7 separate regions of the Homo sapiens genome follow, and regions 1, 2, 3, 5, 6 and 7 are each linked to region 4. The links are contacts of gene promoters, found by promoter capture Hi-C in blood cells and fetal thymus (Javierre and others, 2016). All regions are on one chromosome and are shown on one strand. Each heading gives the region's core, a stretch centred on a gene start or on the middle of the fragment in contact. The rest is flanking DNA. Distances are from core to core; before and after follow the strand shown.

What was found. Contacts are between HindIII fragments. The CHiCAGO score rates a contact against its expected background, and 5 or more counts as called.
Region 1: a contact is called between a fragment that was not itself captured here and the fragment with the promoter of PYROXD1 in region 4, in 1 of 17 cell types (total B cells). The highest score is 6.3, in total B cells.
Region 2: a fragment that was not itself captured here is called in contact with the fragment with the promoter of PYROXD1 in region 4 in 1 of 17 cell types (total B cells); the score reaches 5.4 in total B cells.
Region 3: a fragment that was not itself captured here is called in contact with the fragment with the promoter of PYROXD1 in region 4 in 6 of 17 cell types (total B cells, naive CD8 T cells, non-activated CD4 T cells and 3 more); the score reaches 7.4 in total B cells.
Region 5: a fragment that was not itself captured here is called in contact with the fragment with the promoter of PYROXD1 in region 4 in 3 of 17 cell types (naive CD4 T cells, non-activated CD4 T cells and total B cells); the score reaches 5.8 in naive CD4 T cells.
Region 6: a contact is called between a fragment that was not itself captured here and the fragment with the promoter of PYROXD1 in region 4, in 9 of 17 cell types (non-activated CD4 T cells, total CD8 T cells, total B cells and 6 more). The highest score is 11.7, in non-activated CD4 T cells.
Region 7: a fragment that was not itself captured here is called in contact with the fragment with the promoter of PYROXD1 in region 4 in 2 of 17 cell types (total CD8 T cells and naive CD4 T cells); the score reaches 6.6 in total CD8 T cells.

The regions. Positions count from the first base shown.
Region 1 is chr12:22,444,700-22,447,551 of GRCh38, reverse strand. No RefSeq gene overlaps it. Among named protein-coding and RNA genes, the nearest start is that of C2CD5, 98 kb to the left of the region's middle. The HindIII fragment of the contact is 156 bases long and covers 1,351-1,506 here.
Region 2 is chr12:22,489,723-22,492,422 of GRCh38, reverse strand. It overlaps C2CD5 (C2 calcium dependent domain containing 5), which reads left to right. Exons shown (of 27, transcript NM_001286176.2): 12 at 2,205-2,300. Among named protein-coding and RNA genes, the nearest start is that of C2CD5, 53 kb to the left of the region's middle. The HindIII fragment of the contact is 624 bases long and covers 1,073-1,696 here.
Region 3 is chr12:22,546,548-22,549,247 of GRCh38, reverse strand. No RefSeq gene overlaps it. Among named protein-coding and RNA genes, the nearest start is that of C2CD5, 3.4 kb to the right of the region's middle. The HindIII fragment of the contact is 951 bases long and covers 917-1,867 here.
Region 4 is chr12:21,436,118-21,438,927 of GRCh38, reverse strand. It overlaps PYROXD1 (pyridine nucleotide-disulphide oxidoreductase domain 1), which reads right to left and starts at 1,273. Exons shown (of 12, transcript NM_024854.5): 1 at 1,114-1,273. The coding sequence starts at 1,197. RefSeq lists enhancers at 1,125-1,314, 1,365-1,444. The HindIII fragment of the contact is 2,746 bases long and covers 708-2,810 here.
Region 5 is chr12:22,529,828-22,532,684 of GRCh38, reverse strand. All of the region lies in intron 3 of C2CD5 (C2 calcium dependent domain containing 5), which reads left to right. Among named protein-coding and RNA genes, the nearest start is that of C2CD5, 13 kb to the left of the region's middle. The HindIII fragment of the contact is 925 bases long and covers 806-1,730 here.
Region 6 is chr12:22,628,012-22,630,711 of GRCh38, reverse strand. All of the region lies in intron 1 of ETNK1 (ethanolamine kinase 1), which reads right to left. Among named protein-coding and RNA genes, the nearest start is that of ETNK1, 4.2 kb to the right of the region's middle. The HindIII fragment of the contact is 1,989 bases long and covers 259-2,247 here.
Region 7 is chr12:22,468,293-22,471,041 of GRCh38, reverse strand. It overlaps C2CD5 (C2 calcium dependent domain containing 5), which reads left to right. Exons shown (of 27, transcript NM_001286176.2): 21 at 131-218; 22 at 1,247-1,333. Among named protein-coding and RNA genes, the nearest start is that of C2CD5, 75 kb to the left of the region's middle. The HindIII fragment of the contact is 552 bases long and covers 1,035-1,586 here.

The sequences.
Region 1 (2,852 bases), core at 179-2,678, 1.0 Mb before region 4:
TGGTTCCTTCCAGAAAGGCTAATGTTAACCTACACCCCAAGAGCTGCTGCTCTTTCACTATGCGTACATTACCCCTGAAACATGAGCATCTGGAATGGACATGCTGGGACTTACTCTTGGAAATAGGCCAGTTTACAGCATTTACAGCAGGCTTAACATGCCCTTCATCTTTCATCACTGCTTCTAGGGGCAACGACTCAATTTAAACGAACTCACTGTCGCACTTCCTCCACCTCCTTCTCTCCCATGATGCATTGTCATCTGGCTTTTATCACCTGTTCTGCCCTTGAATTTGAACATGCCAAAGATATAAGTATTGGATTGCAGTCTTGCAGTATTATTTGGTGAGTTTTTTTTTAATGCATACAGCTTTTTCATAAGTGCATAAATGGGATTATATAAACAATGTTTAGAGTAGTTTTCTTTTTTACCCTTTTGCCTGGTTTGCTCTTCTTCCCTATCACATCCCTTCCAATCCATGTTAATAACCTAGTGTGTGTCCTTACATATTTTGAAAAATCTGTTAGATATAATTTAAATTCAACAAAATTCATCTATTTTAAGTGTATAGTTTGAGGTTGGCAAATATATTCCATCATGTAGCCAAGATATGGAACGTTTCCATCACCAATAAAGTTCCCTGGTGTCCCTCTGCAGTCAGTCTACTCCCCCTTCCATGTCAGTGGGATCTTGTGCTCAGCAACTTTCATTTGGCATAATGCTTTTTGAGATGCGTCTATGCATGGACAACATTTTTGGCCAGTAGGAATAATAGAGCTATTTTGCATTTGAGTTTGCACTTTTTTTGTGAAAATGAAAATTTCTGTCCTATGGGGTTGACTTTTTCTTGTTAATATTTAATCTGCTGTGTGTGACAATTTCCCCCCTATTTTGTTGTCTATCTTTACAGTAACTTTTCACAATATCTATACTTTTTGTTATGGACAGTGTGACCATCTTTCCTTTTTTTTAGCTTCTTAGTTAAATTGACCTCTATTCTCTCTTTGATTTTTTTTTTGGTGTGGGGGGGCTGTCCTTAAGCTTCATCAATTTTCATACATCTTGAATTGCTCTTTTGTTAGTATGTCTCCATCAGTAAAAATTTACTATTTCTTATTTCCATAAATGTTGTTACTACTTAGCCGGTTTAGCTTGAATCGGAAGTCTGGGAGATCAAAACCTATCCTCTTCCCAATACGCCACCTAATCTCATGGCACCAGTGCATAAAGACGTGGAAGCATAAAAATGTGTGTTGTGTGGAAGCAACACATTTATTTACAAACCTTTTTTTTCTTTTTCCCTCAGAGGAGGGTCATTTTCAGAGTACTTTTGGTAATCCGATCTAAGCTTTGGACCTTTTTGTCCCCCAAAATAAGCATATACATGAACTTTTGCATACTACTTCAGGAGGTTTATTGAAACCACTTATTTGACCCCAGGCTGAATAAGGAACCACGCTGAAGAAAATGTTAGGAATGGTTGGATAAATAGTATCCTAGGAAGCTTGGCTTCTTTCTAATAGAAAAGTCAAGGCACTATAAAGACTCTCAATCTCTCTCTCTCTCTACATATATATATATAATTAAATATAAATATATTTATAATATAAATCAATATATTATTTATATATAATATAAATAGTTAATAGATTAATTATTAATATATATTATATATATTATATATATAATATATAATATATATTTAATATATATAACATTTAATATATATAACATATTTCTATATAATTAGATATATTTATATATAAATTATATATTAATATACCTATATTGATATCTGAATTTATATAAAGTAGATATATAATTATATATAATTTTTTGACTTTTTTTAATAGCCAAAGATTGCAGATATTAATCTTGTACAACAGTTGTTTTAAATTATATATACATTGTGGAATGACTAGATTGAGCTAATTAGCATATGCATTACCTCACTTTTTTCTTTTGTGGTGGGACCACTGAGAATCTACTTCTCTTAGCAATTTTCAAGAACACAATACATTATTAACTGTAGTCACCATGTTGTACAATAGACTCCTTGAACTTATTCCTCCTATTTAATTGAAGTTTTGTATCCTTTGACCAACATCTCCTAAGGCCTCACCTCTGGCAACCACCATTTTACTATCTACTTCTATGAGTTCAACTTTTTTAGATTTCACATATACTATGTAAGATCATGTGGTATTTGTCATTCTTGCCTGGCTTATTTTACTTAACATTGTGTCTTCCAGGTTCATTCATGTTGTTGAAAATGGCAGAATTTCCTTCTTTTTAAAGACTGAAGAGCATCCCATTGTGTATAGATACCATATTTTCTCTATCCACTTATCTGTTTGTGGACACTTAGGTTGATTTCATAACTTGGCTATTGTGAAAAACGCTGTAATGAACATGAGAGTGCAGATACCTCTTTGACATACTGATTTCATATCCCTTGGAAACATGCAGAGTAGTGGGATTGCTGGATCGTATGGTAGTACTATTTTCAATTTTTTGGGAAGCCTCCAGACTCTTTTCCATAATGGCTGTACTAATTTATATTCTTATCAACAGCGTGCAAGGTTCCCTTTTCTCCACGTACTCTCCAACAAAGACTATATTTTTACATATAAAAAATAAAAACATAAAAATGGTTCCTCTGCTTTTTGAAAGTAAGACTGTTGTTGTCTATAAAAATCCTTTTAAATATTTGTTCATTGGAGTTTTTTTTAAAGACTATATTTTTAAATATTAACAAACCTCAAAATGTCTATGGTAAGCAGAATAATGGGCCTTCAAAGATGTCCCCAACTTAATCCCCTGTGAATATATTACCTGACATGTTAAAAACT
Region 2 (2,700 bases), core at 135-2,634, 1.1 Mb before region 4:
CAGATCACAACTTAACGTTTTTCTACCAATATCATTTGCTCTTTTATATCTAGTTTGTTTTGACCCTTACCTTAACCAGTTGTTTTCTCAGCTCCTTACTTAGTTTCTGGCTTTTTTTGTTCTTTTGCCATCCTTGAACCCTACTTTCAGCCCTTCAGAAGTTTACAGTTGATATCATCTAGAAACTGTTTAACCTTCTGTTATCTTATTTTTCTACCATCTATTCTTAGGTAATTCTTACTGTTAGATCCTCTGCTCTTGTGGTGATCCTTATTGTTAGGGAAAAAGAATTAAACTGTAGTAAATGTGGTCATTACAGAGCCATATTATTTAATCTTCTGTGGGCTTTTCTTTTCCTTTGCAGATCATGTGTTATACTCCTAGACTGTTTATTCCCATAGTAGCGGTTCTACTCTTGTTAACTACTAACTTTGTCAAGCTTATCTTGCCTTACTCCCTAGTTGTCTTGCCACATTGATGGTTTTAATGTCATAAACTTTGAGGCCTTAGAAAAATGTTTTTTGTTGTTGTCGTTTTTTTTTTTGTTTTTTGAGATAGAGTTTCACTCTTTCACTCAGGCTGGAGTGCAATGGTGTGATTTTGGCTCACTGCAACCTCCACCTCCCGGGTTCAAGTGATTCTCCCACCTTAGCCTCCTTAGTAGCTGGGATTACAGGTGCCTGCCTTCCTGTCTGGCTAATTTTCATATTTTTAGTAGAGATGGGGTTTCGCCATGTTGGTCAGGCTGATCTCGAACTCCTGACCTCGTGATCTGTCCACCTCGGCCTCCCAAAGTGCTGGGATTACAGGCGTAAGCCACCACACCCGGCCAGAGATATGGTTTTAGAAGGCATAGTTCTTGGTATCACATTTACATTCTACTGGATAATTATGATGTAAAATAAATTTTAAGATTGAGATATAGGATGCTTTGGGATCCTAGAGGGCTGAAAGCTCAAAGTAGAATTGGAAGAAAATGTCAATGAAGTAACTGATGCTTGAGTTGGATTTTGGGGGATGAATATGAATTATATAAATAAAAAGAAGAGGCATAAGGAGAGGTTTCAAAGCTTACAAGATGCATTCAACACTTAAAAGAGTAGCAAAAAAAAGAAGGCCACAGGATGTAGACTCAGGATGGCTGATGATAGGTCACAGATGGAGGAGTCTGCAAATGAGTTCAGTTAATTTACCTAGAAGTTTGAGTTCATCTGACAGATGTCATCTGACAGAGGTCCTTTCTAGACCTCAAAAACATCTGTGTATTTAAATTTTAACTAATCTTTTCTGTTCCAGCCCATGCTACTTTCTGTTACTGGATTAAACTCTCTGAAATGCACTTCTGCTCTTATAACTTCTTGATTCGAAGACATCAGTGGTTTCATGTTATTCCTTCTGACATCCTTAATTCCTACCTACACTTTAAGCCTGGTCTTCCTTTATTTTATTTACAGTTCAAGTGACTGTTCCTCCCTTGTTCTCTTAGGCTTCTGTTTTATTTTATTTCTGGGTTTTATTTATACCTGGTTTTCAGCAGTTCATCCCTAGGTTGCTACTTTTCTCATTTGTTTAGGTGATCTCATTCAATAATTATGTTGATTGTTTAATTTTTTAGCTTTCAAATTGGGTGACATATAATAATTTAAAAATTATTTTGAATATCAGTTTTCTGTTATATGATGATGTAGTTTAAGCTTCATTTAGTATATTTTGTATATTGTTTCAGAAACCTTTATAATGATTTAAATTTAGATTAAGCTATATAAATCACCTATATAGAGATATTTACATAGTTGTGCTTTTAGAATAATTTTAATAAAACTTCATATACATTTAAAGAGTATTTTAATATAGTTTCATTGATTAATGCTAGATTCAGCAATACAATTTATTACTGCTTATATTTTGAAACATTTCATTCTTTCAGCCTTGCCATATTTTAAATGAAGTTATTGTCTTTAATATTAATACTTTTATCTTTTTTCAGTTTTTAATTTATGAAGAATTCTTTCCCTCCATTCAAATAAAGTTACTTCTGTTTTCTAGGCTAGGTTTAGGAGGTAAACCTCGTAAATATTATTTAATATTGAGTAGAGTCTAACTTGAACTTAAATTGTCACTGTTATAATTATTTTGATATTTAGCATTTCCCAAAGTTATACGGTCTGAAAAATGTTAACTTGTTTGTGTTTTTTCCTTTATAGTGAAGAGGTCTGCATTTTATCTGCATCTGGCACAGCGGCTGTACTGAATCCTAGATTTCTGCAGGATGGCACCGTGGAAGGCTGTTTGGAACAGAGGTTGTCATGGCAGCCTGGCTTATTTTCTATAAGGGCAGAGAAGGGAGAGGTCGACTTTTTTTCTGAGAGTTGGGATAATTCTTCTCCGTAGGGTGGCTTACAGGGGTACAGTGTAGAAATCAGGACCAAGCACTTCACTAATTTTTAACTAACCCGTAGTAACAGAGGAGTATTGGATTCTGCACTATATGGCACACATTATTGTTTCTAGTGTCTTGATAAGTGACATGTATGATTACCAGTTGAAGAATTTCAGGTGTCCATTTTTTTTTGCTTTGTCATGATATAGAAATAATCTTTGGATCTTTCTCTTCCTTTCATTTCCCTGTGTCTCACCTCCAAAAACAGAAAGAGGTTATGAAACAATTTTTATAAAAAACAATTCTTAATTTACAAAATA
Region 3 (2,700 bases), core at 143-2,642, 1.1 Mb before region 4:
GGGAACTAATAAGATGATGAGTTTACCTAGATGCCTACTTATCTCATTTTTACTCCTTAATCAAAGCAAAAGTGAGCCACATGGTGGCTCACACCTGCAATCCTAGCACTTTGGGAGGATGAGGCAGGCAGATCACTTGAGCCCAAGAGTTCGAGATCAGCCTGGGCAACATGGGGAGACCTCATCTCTACTAAAATATAAAAATTAGCCAGATGTGGTGGTGTGCGCCTGCAGTCCCAGCTATTCAGGAGGCTAAGGTTGGAGGATCACCTGAGCCTGGGAGGTTGAGGCTGTGGTGAACTGTGATCTTGCCACCGCACTGTAGCCTGGGTAACAGAGTGGGACCCTGGCCCAAAGGAAAAAAAAAAATCAAAGCAAAAGTAACTGAACTGAGCCCAAGTTGTCATTTGTATAATTATACTTGTAATCCCAGCCCACTTTCAAACTTAAATCAGTGAGTTTCTGGCTTGAGCAATTGACTATGTAGTTGGCATTGCTGTTTAGTAGAAGACTACCAGGTCTTTTGTTGTTGTTGTTGTCATTCTCGTTGTTGTAGTTATGGGAAAGGTAAAGAAAATCAGGTCAGTTTTGGACATCTTGACTTTTGAGGTCACTTTTGGACATCTTGACTTTTGAGGTCACTTTGATACTCCAAATGGAAATAGTAACTTGGCAGTTGCATATATGGGTCAAGATCCCAGAAGCGAGTTACAGACTAAAGATAACGATTTGAGAGTCCCTGACTAAACAGATGGAAATTAAAATTGTGAGCTTGGATGAGATCACCTAGGGAGACAGTACAGTTGGAAGAGAATAGAGACAAAAACTGAACCTGAGAAAAACACATATTTAATAGTTAAGGACAATGAGTAGGCTGAGAAGACAGATGTATAAACCAGAATAGGTAAGAGAAGCTTGGTTTCTGAATACCAAGAGGAAGATTATTTTAAGGACAGCGTGGTCAACAGCATCAAATGCTACTGAGAGTCACGTAAATAAAAAACTGAAGCCAGGCATGGTGGCACGTGCCTGTAGTCTCAGCAACTTGGGAGCCTGAGGCAGAAGGACTGCATGAACCCAAGGGTTTGAGACCAGTCTGGGCAACACAGCAAGACCCCATCTCAAAAATAAAAACTTAAAACTAAAAAAAGTGTTCATTGCATTTAGCAACCAGAGGTTATTGATGGCATTAGTGAAAGCTGTTTTTGTAGAGTGGTGGTGGCTAAACCCAGATATTAATAGTTTTTGGAGCGCTTAGGAAGTGAGGAGAGGGCACCAAGTACTGACAACCCTTGAGTAATTTAACCTGAAAGAATGGGAAAGATTAACAGGAACATTTTAGGAAGCCAGGAAAGAAGAGCAATCTAAGTAGTAATAGCAAGTGTTAACTGTTAATTTAATTCCACAATAATTTGTTGATCACATGAAGGGCACAGGACAAAGAACTGAGAATTGAGAGATGAGTGAGAAGCAATCCATTCCCTCAGAGTGCTCATGGTTTAGTGGGGGTTGGGGGGGAGAGAGATGGATAAATAATTATTGCATGGAAAGTATAATAACAAATGTATTAGATTTAGTAGTAGCATAGGTGGGAGTGAAGAGCATATTTATTAGGAAGGAGATTAGAGAAGATGTAGAAGTGACTTTTGTAAAAGGCAAAAGATTTATACACTCTAAAGAGAAACCAGAGTATTGACTTTTGAACTGAGTTATGAATTCATAGCTATTTGGTAGGATGACTATGAGAGAGATACTCCAGGAAGAAGGAAAAGTATAGTTTATTAGAAAACTACATGTAATCTTCAAAGACGTGAGTTCTTGGAATCACATTGTCTAGATTTAAAACCTGCCTCTATCATTAGAAGCTTTGTGACCTTGGGTAATCACCAGAGCTTTGAAAAGCCATAATTTTCTCATTTATAAAATGAAGGCTGATAATTCCTACCTCAGGATTTTAGGGAGCCTTAACAGCTGTGAAACGCTGAATTCAGTAGCTGGTGTGCGGCAAACCATCAATACACGTTAATTCTTGTTATTGATAATTTAAAATGCAAAAAGAGTGTCAGGGTATGAAGCTAAACAAGGTAATCAGGAGTCACATCATGGTAGATTTGTCAGAAAGTTAGCACTGTTCCCAGCATTAATGAAAACAAACGAGAACAATTATTAGGAAACAGTTCAACTGAAGTCAGGCTTAAATCTACTAAAAATAGTTTTCAGGAAGCATCTTAATTATAATCTCTTGTTGATGAAGCCTAAGGCAACAAGTACGTACAAGTACCTCAAAGTCTACTAATTAGGAGGCTGAGATTGCTAACCTCTAATTGTGCAATTTGCAACTTTTTACATTTTGGAACACAATGCATTATTTTCCATTAATATTGGTGCTAAACTTCAATTTTCTAATATTTTTTCTTTATACATTTCATATTTTAAAAAATGAGTTGGTAATACGGTAATACTTCGATTTCACCACAAAAACGACTTCAACTCTACCACCCAAAACAACAAAAAACACTGATCATGCCGGGCAAGATGGCTCATGCCTGTAATCCCACCACTTTGTGAGGTCAAGGCAGGAGGATGGCTTAAACCAGGATTGAGACCAGCCTGGGCAATACAGGGAGACTCCATCTCTTCAAAAAATTTAAAAAACTAGCGGTGCATGGTGGTATGTGCTTGTAGTCCCAGGAACTTGGG
Region 4 (2,810 bases), core at 24-2,523:
TAATATTGTCTCTTCCAGCAGGCTGTGAGTCCCCAGCATGGTATATACCATGCTGTTCATAGTTGAACACTCAGCCCTTAATACGGTGCCTGCATCATATATGTTTACTTAGTGAATAAACGGAAAATACGCATCCAACGATGGAAACACTTGAGTTTCTTCCACTATTTCTTATGACTTCAGTGATTGCTCATGTTTACTTTATATCAACAAAATAATGTAGAACTTTTTGGAATACACACATGTATCTGAATATATATGGTCTGGCTATTCAGTATAATCAAGAAAGCAAGCCCTACATGCATTTAATCCTTCGCTGATTATTTTACAAAACTTTACTAGAAATAAAGTTTCTTCTATCTTGGGAGTTCGAAGTATAGAAAACTTACATATGGGATTCTTTATTAATTAGTTAAGATGCACTAAAGACTTGGCAACTATCTGGAAACTAAACTCAATCACCTACGATAATTAACAAAGGGGGCTGAGGGCCGGGTGCTGTGGCTCAGGCCTGTAATGCCAGCACTTCGGTAGGCGGAAGCGGGCAGACTGCTTGAGCCCAGGAGTTCGAGACCAGCCTGGCCAACATGGTGAAAGCCCGTCTCTACTAAAAATACAAACATTAGCGGGGCGTGGTGGCTGGCGCCTGTAATCCCAGCTACAGGCTGACGCAACAGAAGAATCGCTTGAACCCGGGAGGCAAAGCTTGCATTAAGCCAAGATCGCACCACTGCCCTCCAGTCTGGGCGACAGAGTGAGACTCCGTCTCAAAGAAAAAGAAAAAAAAATAAAAAGAAAGGGGGCTGAATTTTTTGTCTAAATACAAAGTCCTCATGTCTGCTCTGACATTACAAGGATCTGAGCACGGATCAGCCAGCTTTGGTTTCTCGGCTATAATTTGCCTCCCACTCCTCCCTGCGCCTAAGAGAAAGCTAGTGAGGTCATCTGAGGACCACCAAGCAGTTTCTAAAATCTGGGAGCAATAAGTGCGGAAAAGGGCGCAGCAAAAAAGGAACCCGGAAGAAGAAAAAGGGAGGGGGTGGGAGGAAGGCCTCCAGTGCTATCCCCTTTGGGGTCGGGGAAAGAGGCGGAACCGCCTGAGCACCGCCCTACCTGCTCCGCACAAGTGACGCCCGCGATGCCGCCGCCGACCACCACGAACTTCCCTGCCGTCGGGGGAGGGCGCGCTGCCTCCATGCTGCCGGACTCCCAGTGGTTTACTGAATATCGCGGCGGAGCAACGGGACTCTGGACTCCAGGAGAGGAAGCAGCCGCGAGGCGGTCACTTCCGGTGCCTTACCAGATAATCCGACCTACGGGTGCTCGGGAGCTCACACTACTCATCTCGAGTACCTGCTGCCGGCTGCGTTTCGGAAGCAACGAATTGTCTCGTGGTGTTCAGAGCTTTGCGTTACTATTACTACACCTGAATGTAGTTATTCCATGAAAATTTGACAAAGAGAAAACCAAAAAATTAAAAATAAAAAAGTAAAGAAGATGGGTTGCCCAAAGAAGTTTGATAAATTACATATCTAAAGATAGACCAGTGTTCTCACGGGACAAAACATTCATATAATAAATGAATTGGTGTGAAGTTCTCATTATTTGTTTCTGCGAGAAATTAGAGGCACAGATTTTATGCTCTTATGAGTAGAAGGAGCCTTCGGGAACATCCTGACCCCACTCCTGTCATTTTTGTAGATGAAGAAACTTGAGTCTTCTGAAAACCACTTGATTGCCACCGTTCACCTAACAATCCAAGATTTTTGTTTGTGGAAGCACAAAAATTCTTCATGACAAGGCAAAACAATACTACTGAATTGTTCTCTAAAAAATCATCCTTTTCATTTACAACTTTGACCTCAGCTAAAGTTTCCAGGAAGAATGTACAGTTGCTTTCCATTTTGTCAAAACAAATGAACATTTCTTAAATTTCCAGTCAATAGCAGCATGTGTGAGGGTTGAATGAAATATTCCCAGTCTCGGTTTTACTGTGAATTTTTTTCGTGGTCAATTGTTTTTAAGAAATTGCTAAATCATTTTTAACTGTTTTTACTATATTATTCACTATTCATATTATTTTACTATTTACTATTACCTTTGCTGTCTCATATAACTTTCCCTAGGAGTTGTTTTGTAATGGTAAGGTATTATCTCTCAAATGGTTCACTCTAAAACTGGTAATTACCCGAGTCCCTTTAATTCTTTAAACACTGAGAATAACCATTATATATTAACAGGAAAGCCTACCACGTATCTAATTACAGGCATTTACTGATACCTGTAAAAATCATTGTTCTTTGATTTACCAAGTTAAATGGTAAGCGGTTTAATAAACGTGTCTAATTCCTGTTACTAGTATAGCAACCAAACAAAGCATTCATTTCTAGGAGGAGGAAATACATTCCTTAAGCCCATTTAGATCTCATCTTGCTTCAGCTTATTTTCACATTATCTCACTCACACTGTGTTCCATTCAGGCCACACTACACTTCCAGATCCCAGGATATGCCATTTTCTTTCTGAGCATTTGCACATATCTTTTTCCCAACTACTTTTCCCTGGCTAACTCATCAACCTTTGGTTTCATCAAGCCATTGCTTCCCCTTTAAGATACTTTATCTAACATCCTCAAGACAGCTAGGTGTCCTCTCCGTGTGTTCTTATAGCACTTTGTCATCCTCTAAATTTAGACTTATCCCACTTTATTGTAAATTCTTACTGCCTGACCCCACCACCACCATAAACTGCTTACATAATCTCAGGGATTATTTTTGTCTCCCTTTGTATCTCCAATGTTTAGTAGGGAG
Region 5 (2,857 bases), core at 19-2,518, 1.1 Mb before region 4:
GAAGAAATGACACTACGATTTTTAGGCGCTGCTTTGCTTATGGTTTATATTAGGACCGTGATCTTTCTTTTAGTGTTGGAAGGCACATTCTGTAGTGGTTGGGATACTGCATAGCTGCCCTCTATTGGAAAAGCTTAAAGGTCTGGATTAAGAGAAAACAAATTCTATTTCTGGTGCCTGCTAATTTGCAGATGACCTCAGACAGCCTTACCATTTGGAGCCTCTGTTTTTTTTCAAACATGAATTCTTTCCAGAGTAGTATTGAGGTGGCTATGAAGCATGTTGCTGTATGTTAATATGAGTTGCACTAGTCAAAAAAAAGAGAATAATATATGTAAACTTTTTTTTTTTTTTGAGACGGAGTTTCACTCCCGTTGCCCAGGCTGGAGGGCAATGGTGGGATCTTGGCTCACTGCAACCTCTGCCTCTCAGGTTCAAGCGATTCTCCTGCCTCAGCCTCTTGAGTAGCTGGGAGTACAGTCATGCGCCACCACACCTGGCTAATTTTGTATTTTTAGTAGAGACAGGGTTTCTCCATGTTGGTCAAGCTGTTCTCAAACTCGCGACCTCAGGTGATCCACCCACCTTGGCCTCCCAAAGTGCTGGGATTACAGGCGTAATGCCCGGCCTGGGAATAATATTTTTAAATCACTCAGCATTTTGGATAGACATTCAGCGTTTGGCAGAAAGTGGGTTTAAATATTAGCATTTTGGGGTATATCTTCTGTTCTTTCGTTAATGTATAGTTTAATTAGTCTGAGTGGTGTAGGTGTGCTAAAAAAATAGAACTGCAGTTTGAAAAGCTTTTGTTGCTAAAATTAAATCTCAGTTTGTATAAGAAAGGTGTACCTCGTCTGTAGACTCAGCATTTATGGACAGTGACAGCTTTTATTTATTATCTCTGTGGAATATAACTGTGTTTCTCAAAATTACGACCTCATCAGAGTAGCTTGGCTGTGTCTCAGTCTTCTGTCAAAAGGACTCAGTTATAGAAACAGTTATTCTTAACCTCCCAGTAGCTTTTACCCAAAGGTTTTCAAGCAAATGGATCTCTCTAAGGAAGGTAATTTCTAGTTTCTGTAAACTCCTCCTCTTTTAAAATGGACTTCCATGTTATCTGCTAGAACATTGAACTGGAAGTCAGTAAATTGTTTAGGACTTTACCTTTGAGGCAAGTTAAAAAAAATCAGTTGGACATAGATGTAAGGATTTATTTCCGCACTCTCAACTCCATTCCATTGGTCTGTATGTCTGTCTTTATACTATTACCATACTGTTTTGATTACTATAGCTTTGTAGTGAGTTTTGCAATCAGGAAGTGAGAGTCCTACAAATTCATATTTTTAGTTGATATTTTCATGGTGAAATATTTTGATTCTCTTCTCATTTTCTTTTGTGTATATGTACAAATTTTTCTTTTAGCTGCTTCTAAAATGCCACTATCTATTTTGAAAGACCCGTTGCACATGTATTGAGTCTATTGTGGCATTTTAAACTACATTATTAAGGTAAAGGTGTGGAATATATGTGTCAAAAAATAATCAGAGTAACTTCCTTACATGATTTCAGATGGATTTAGAATTAGAGTCTATCTTCATTACCCAGGCAAAACACTGGGATGTTTATATAGTTTATTTTGATAGCCTTTCCCCCCCAACTATAACCTAGAAATGGTTAAAAACGAATAGTTTTCATTACATTGTTATTGGAATGGTGGGAGGAGGCAAGCTTCATGTGTCAGAGTAATTTTCATGATACTAGGAAATATTAAAAAATGATATTTCATTTTAATGATGATGGTAATAAACTGGTATTTTTTAAAGCTAGTGAGTACTCAAGCAGCTTACTTAACAATATGAAAAATAATATATTTATTTTCTGAAATAAGGGATTTACCAGGCAGTTCCCTTAAAATTTCTTAAGTTAGTGGCTGGGTGCAGTGGCTCACAGCTATAATCTTGGGACTTTGGGAAGCCGAGGCAGGCGAATCACCTGAGATCCAGGGTTCAAGACCAGCCTGGGCAACAGAGTGAAACCCCGTCTCTACTAAAATACAAAAATTAGCCGGGTGTGGTGGTGTGAACCTGTAATCCCAGCTATGTGGGAGGCCGAGGCCCAAGAATCGCTTGAACCTGGGAGGCAGAGGTTGCAGTGAGTCGAGATCACGCCATTGCACTCCAGCCTGGGTGACAGAGTGAGACTCCGTCTTAAAAAAAAAAAAAAATTTAGTAAGTTACTGTTTTGACTAGTCTTCCCGAATAATATATATGCTGTGAAAAATGTACTTAAAACTTTGTGTTTATAGTTAACATTGATTATGTAGTACTTTTTTTAACCCTGTTTATCAGTTGTTAATTGCATTCAGTTATATATATATATTCAGTTTTAAATATATATACACACACAGTTGTGTATATATATATACACAGTTGTATGTATACATATACACATAGTTGTATATATACAGTTATATATATACTGTATATATATACACAGTTGTATATATAGTTGTTATGTATACAGTTGTGTATAATATATATACACTGTGTGTGTGTGTGTGTGTGTGTGTGTGTATATATATATATATATATATATATATATATATATAGCACTCAAATACATGTCTTAAGCAAAATAGATGTTTTTCTCTTATGTGAAAGAAATGTCGTGCCAGGCAGTGTAAGGGTAGTGTGGTTGCTCCACGCAGTCATTTGGGACTCCATCATCTATACATAGCCTGTGGTTTCTCTTAAAGTGATTCAAGGTCCTTTTGGCTCCAGTTTAGCACCTGGAGTTCCAGTGAGCACATGAGTGTTCCAGGCTGGCAGAAGGAGCTAGAGTGAAGGGGAGTCCAGGA
Region 6 (2,700 bases), core at 4-2,503, 1.2 Mb before region 4:
TTGAACCTGGGAAACGGAGGTTGCAGTGAGCTGAGATCACACCACTGCACTCCAGCCTGGGCTACAGCGAGACTCTGTCTCAAAAAAAATAAAATAAAATAAAATAAAATACAAAAAGAAAAATATCCAGTGGCTTCCCATGATGTCCTAAATGATGAGTAAGCTACTCAAAGTCTAGCTTCATTGCCTTTGTGAGATAGTTTTCCTTGCTCAGAAATGTTTCCCTTTTCAATCTGATCTCATCTACCCTTCAAAGCTTAGCTCAGGTACCCCCACCTCTATGAAGCCTTCTGTCCTACGTTCTTCTATGCCTACCTTGTGCTACAGTTAGTTGTACAAGGACTCTTACTGAAAACTAGCATTACAGCTAGTACAAAAAACACATGTCAGAATTACTGAATTTTAGGAGCTCACAATTCTCTCAGTTGGGATGGGAGAATTGGAAATGAGAGGTGGAAGAACGTAGTACCAAAACATGCGATGCGTAATTGTAGGTATTTCATTGAATTCTCATGACTACTTTCCAAGGTAATACCATTTTATAGAGACTTTAAAACTTGCCAAAGGTTATAAATGGCTGGAAATAATATTCAAAAACCATCCTCTTTCCACATTATGCTCAGTCCCCAAAAAGATGTGACGCAGTTTGTGTAGTCCAAGTTACATGGCTATTATACAGGAAAACAAACTAGCACTTTAGGCTCCTGTCTTCATAGTCACATCTTAATAAAATACATGGGAGCCTAACAAATATTTCATGTTTTTGATGGGCGTCTATTAAACATTATATACTTTATTATTCTAAAATGCTGAAGACAGGGAGGGAATAGGAAACAGAAAACTGGATGTAATCACTAACATTAAAAGTTACACTGAATATAAACCATGACTCCTTATTTGTATCTACAGGACTCAAGATTTCCTATAATCTTAGGGAAAGTAAACTAATATATTGTTTACTTTTTTAATATATTAAAAAATTAGCCGTAACTTACTACATTAGCTTACCTAAGACTTTTCAGAAGCTACTGCTTAAAGGAACAAACTCATCTTTTTAAAAACAGAAAAGAAAATCAATTATTATATCAGAACACTAGTGGAGACATAACTTAACACAGCAATTGTATAGATCTGGCTTTTTCTTCTTCCTTTAAGGCAAAGACCAATATAAAATATCAACTATCAATATTAAGAGGAGTTACAGGTTTTTAATAGATTATTTAGGTAACTACCTCCAACACTGTTAGAAAGAGGAAGGATATGAAAACTGCTGTGTAGCTACACAACCTAACACAAAGATTAATTTCCATGATAGAATACATATGCTTAAAAAAATGATGAAAAGATTTTTTAAAATATGCATTCAATAACAGGCAAAAACCTGTAGTAAAGCAGAAAGAACAGTACATTTTTTAAACTTCTTGGGTAATCTTTGCATGTGAACTAAATTTGAATGTTCATTCCATAAACATTACGTTGTTATAATTTTCTTATTTGTCTTCCCCATCGGACTAGGAATTTCAAAGAGCAAATATTTGTTTTTTGATTCAAGTATCCAATATATAGTAGGTGCTCAGCAGCAATAATAATTATCATGAAAGACAGCATTTATTTTACCCTCACAATAACCCATTGAGGTAGGGACAACTACTGGATCAATTTTACAGCTCAGGATACTGAGACAGGAAGTTTAATGATTTGACCAGAGTAACAAAGCTAGTAAAGTATAGAATCTGGACTCAAAACTAGCACTGTGTTCAAACCCCATGCTCTTGAGCACTGTAACACACTGTTATTGAAAAGCTAAGTTGCTATAAGGTACCATATAGCAAGCAATCTCATTTAGACCCAACAAAGGAATAAATATATTAGTTTTGTAATGTTAAATAATAATTACGGTATTAATTCCTACCTATGAAGCCTTTGCCATTATCTACTATAAGTCCCAAGTAATGGAAAAATTCATAGTGACAAGTTAGTGAGAAAAACAACGTTGCTTAATACTGCAAACAGAAAGACCCTGAGACAACATAACTGGAATATTCCAAACACTAATTCATCAGCTCTTCAGAAAATGAAAAACAATTTTAAGAGTCCGTTGAGAATTATTATGGACCTGAGATCTGACTTGATTCTTTATTCCTTTATACGATGACTCTCCAAAGAAAAGTATAAAAATTAAAAATCAAAATCTTCAAATAAGTTAAACAGTTGTTACACAACAAAAGTAACTCGTGAAGGAAAGCTTAAGTAATCCCTTTTTCCTAAAATGGTGTCACATATGAAAAAAGTAATGCAAATTTATGTTCAAGGGAACTTTAAAGCAGAATCTTTTTATGAGCCAAAGCTTTTAAGAAATTAATTTTATACAGAAGCACCTTCCCTGCCTAAATCATAATATACAAACAAAACTCTTGGTCATAGAACAATAATTCATAAGATGGTTTATCATCTCAGATCTGCCATTTGTAAACGGCAAATTCAGTTTCATTAACTATATGATACATATTAACAGTACCGTCTACATCTACCTCACAGGATAGTTGGGAGAATGCATGTGAAAGTGCTTTATAAACAGTAAAGGATTATTAAATACAAAGCACTGTGGCTGTATTGTTGTTTTAGATTTACTCTGCCTATTCTGCTACTATACTCCGAAAACCTCACCATCTCCTTTATAATTTATTCTTTTAATCTAGT
Region 7 (2,749 bases), core at 61-2,560, 1.0 Mb before region 4:
ATTCTGGTTGAGGATTTTAACCAGAAAAGGTATTTGGTGTAGGTTGTTCCGTGGTACTGAAAAAAATATGTAAGAAACTTAGTTTTGGCAGTGATTATTTTGCTAACCATTATTGTTTTTATAATTCTAGGTTACAGTCACGGCAGTCGCAATCACTTTTGACAAAAATCAGGCTTTACAAACCACAAAAACCCCTGTTGAAAAGTCATTGCAAAGAGGTAAATCTTTACTGAATAGGAAGTTCAGTTTGTGTTTGTCTGTGTTATGGTTCAGTGATAAAATATACAGGACAGGTGGATTCAATAAATTACTTATTTCTTGAAGAATATTTGCTGCTTTTTCTGTTCATCTTTATGAAGATAACTGTGTGGATAAGCGTATGGCTGACTTGATATTTTTCACACGCGACTGGGTGGTATTTGACTGATGTTTACATAGAGAATGCTGCTGGTTTTTTAGACTTAAATTATAGCCTATTAATTCTGCAGTAATATAAGGGTTTCTATACTAAGATCTCTGGCAAGGTCTTCAAGGCATCTGAGGACCTACTGATGTAGTAAGCACAATTGTGTGCCTGTGTATTATTTTCAGGACAAGTTCCATAGTGTTCAACAGATTCACAAAGGTGGCCTTAATCCAGTAAAATTTAGGAAGTAGTCTTAATATATATTCTGAAGAAATCCAAATTATTGGAAACTGTGTGTTCTGAAAAACACATAATGGGGGATACTATACTTTCTTGTATAGTTTGAATGATTTACTGGCTAAATGAAATATTCCTGATTAGTCCTAAACTTTTAAAAGTTGATTACATTCTACATGTATAGCATTGATAAGATTTGAGCAGTGAGTTAATGTCAGGTAGATGTATTAAATGATTATGTGTTCAGATATTTATCAAAGAAGACATGTAACCGGTTTAAGTATCACAAAAGCTAGTAATGGACAAAGTATAGGATATTAATTATTGTCTAGCATTTATTATTTGCAAAGCACTGTGCTAAGTGAGTTACAGATATTAATCTCTTAAAGCTTCACAAGAGTCATACCAGGGAAGATAGCACCAGTCTCAGCATCATGCAGATGAATGGTTTCCATGGGAGAAATCAAGGAGAAAATGACCAGAATAAATTGGGGTGGGGAGATGGAGCTGAGAATATGTATATGTATGTTGTCACAGATTCTTAATTTTAAAAAATTAATAATAGATCATTACTAAATAACTGATATTTTCTTGCCTTTCTAGCCTCAACAGATAATGAAGAACTTTTACAATTTCCACTGGAACTGTGTTCAGATTCACTTCCTTCTCATCCTTTTCCACCAGCTAAAGGTTGGTTAAGTGAGGGAAAAAGCAAACACAAATCCTGGTTTCTAGTTCCTTTCACTGCTTCTTCATTATAGGAAATCTTACTAACCTTGAGGTGAAAATTTATCCTTCATTCCCTCATTATATGTTTCTTCATATTCATAAAGGGGAGAAATTAATGTTCCTTTTATTTTAATTTCTGAAGTAATTTCATTCTAAGTTATTAAGGTAATTTTTCCTATGATATTCTATTCTCATACCTTAATGTATTAAAGCTTTATTTTCAAAGGTTTGGATTTCCCACTGTAACTATTCACACATAGAATACTTGATATTTTATATTATATTTGGTAAGTTTTTTCCAGCAACAATTAAACCTTCACAAAAAGTTTTGGATTTTCATGCACAACAGAATGCTTTTTTTTTTCCAGAAGATACATGAAGAGGTTTTGAGTGGGAGTAGTACAAGTGAGAAAGCGATGAGCTTCCTGTCTTTGCTGTGGCAATAATTGAAGAACATTGTTATGTACTTATATAAGACACTGCCATGTTTTTTTTCCAGTGCAAATTGATAGCTCCTTAATTTAATAGCAATAAATCTATTTTGATCTGCATAATCTTTGGGGAAAAGTGGGAGGTATTGTTTTCCATTTCTCATCTGATTTTAGTATGATTTTTATTACAAAAAAATTTAAAATTACTATGCCTTATTTTGTAGCATTATGTATTAGATAAATGTAGTATGTGTTTTTCACTAAATTTATTTTGAGAAATGATAGTTATTTGAAATGAGCTATTCAACTTTTATGTCTTATAATACAATGGATATTATTTTATGATTCCTACTTGTTATTTGATACCAAATTATGTATAATACAGAATAGTTTTATATTCACTTTACATATATGTCAATAGAATCTTTATTAAATCAGTACAAAGTCTGTTTATATAGATAAATAGATCTTGTCTCATATTTCAAAGACGAAAAATAAGCTGCTTCCAGATTCTGAACTTTGTAACGTAGTAACTGTGGTCCTTTTTCCTTTTTGTGATCACCCAAAATTCTGATTTAGAACTCCATAGAGAATTGTAGCATATCTCAATGTCCTTGAAAGAATAGAGAGGAAAAATCAAATTCAAAGGTAATGTGAGTTCAGATTTATGAATTAAATACAGCTTCCAGGCAGAAAGCAGAACTGTCAAGAGTCTTCTTTGGGCCGGGCCTGTTGGCTCATACCTGTAATCCCAGCACTTTGAGAGGCTGAGGCGAGAAGATCGCTTGAATCCAGGAGCTTAAGACCAGCCTGGGCAACACAGTGAGACCCCAGCTCTACAAAAAATAAATAATGAGCTGCATGTGGTGGTGTGCACCTGTGATCCTAGCTCCGTGGGAGGCTGAGGTGGGAGGATTGCTTGATCCCAGGAGGTTAAGGCTACAGT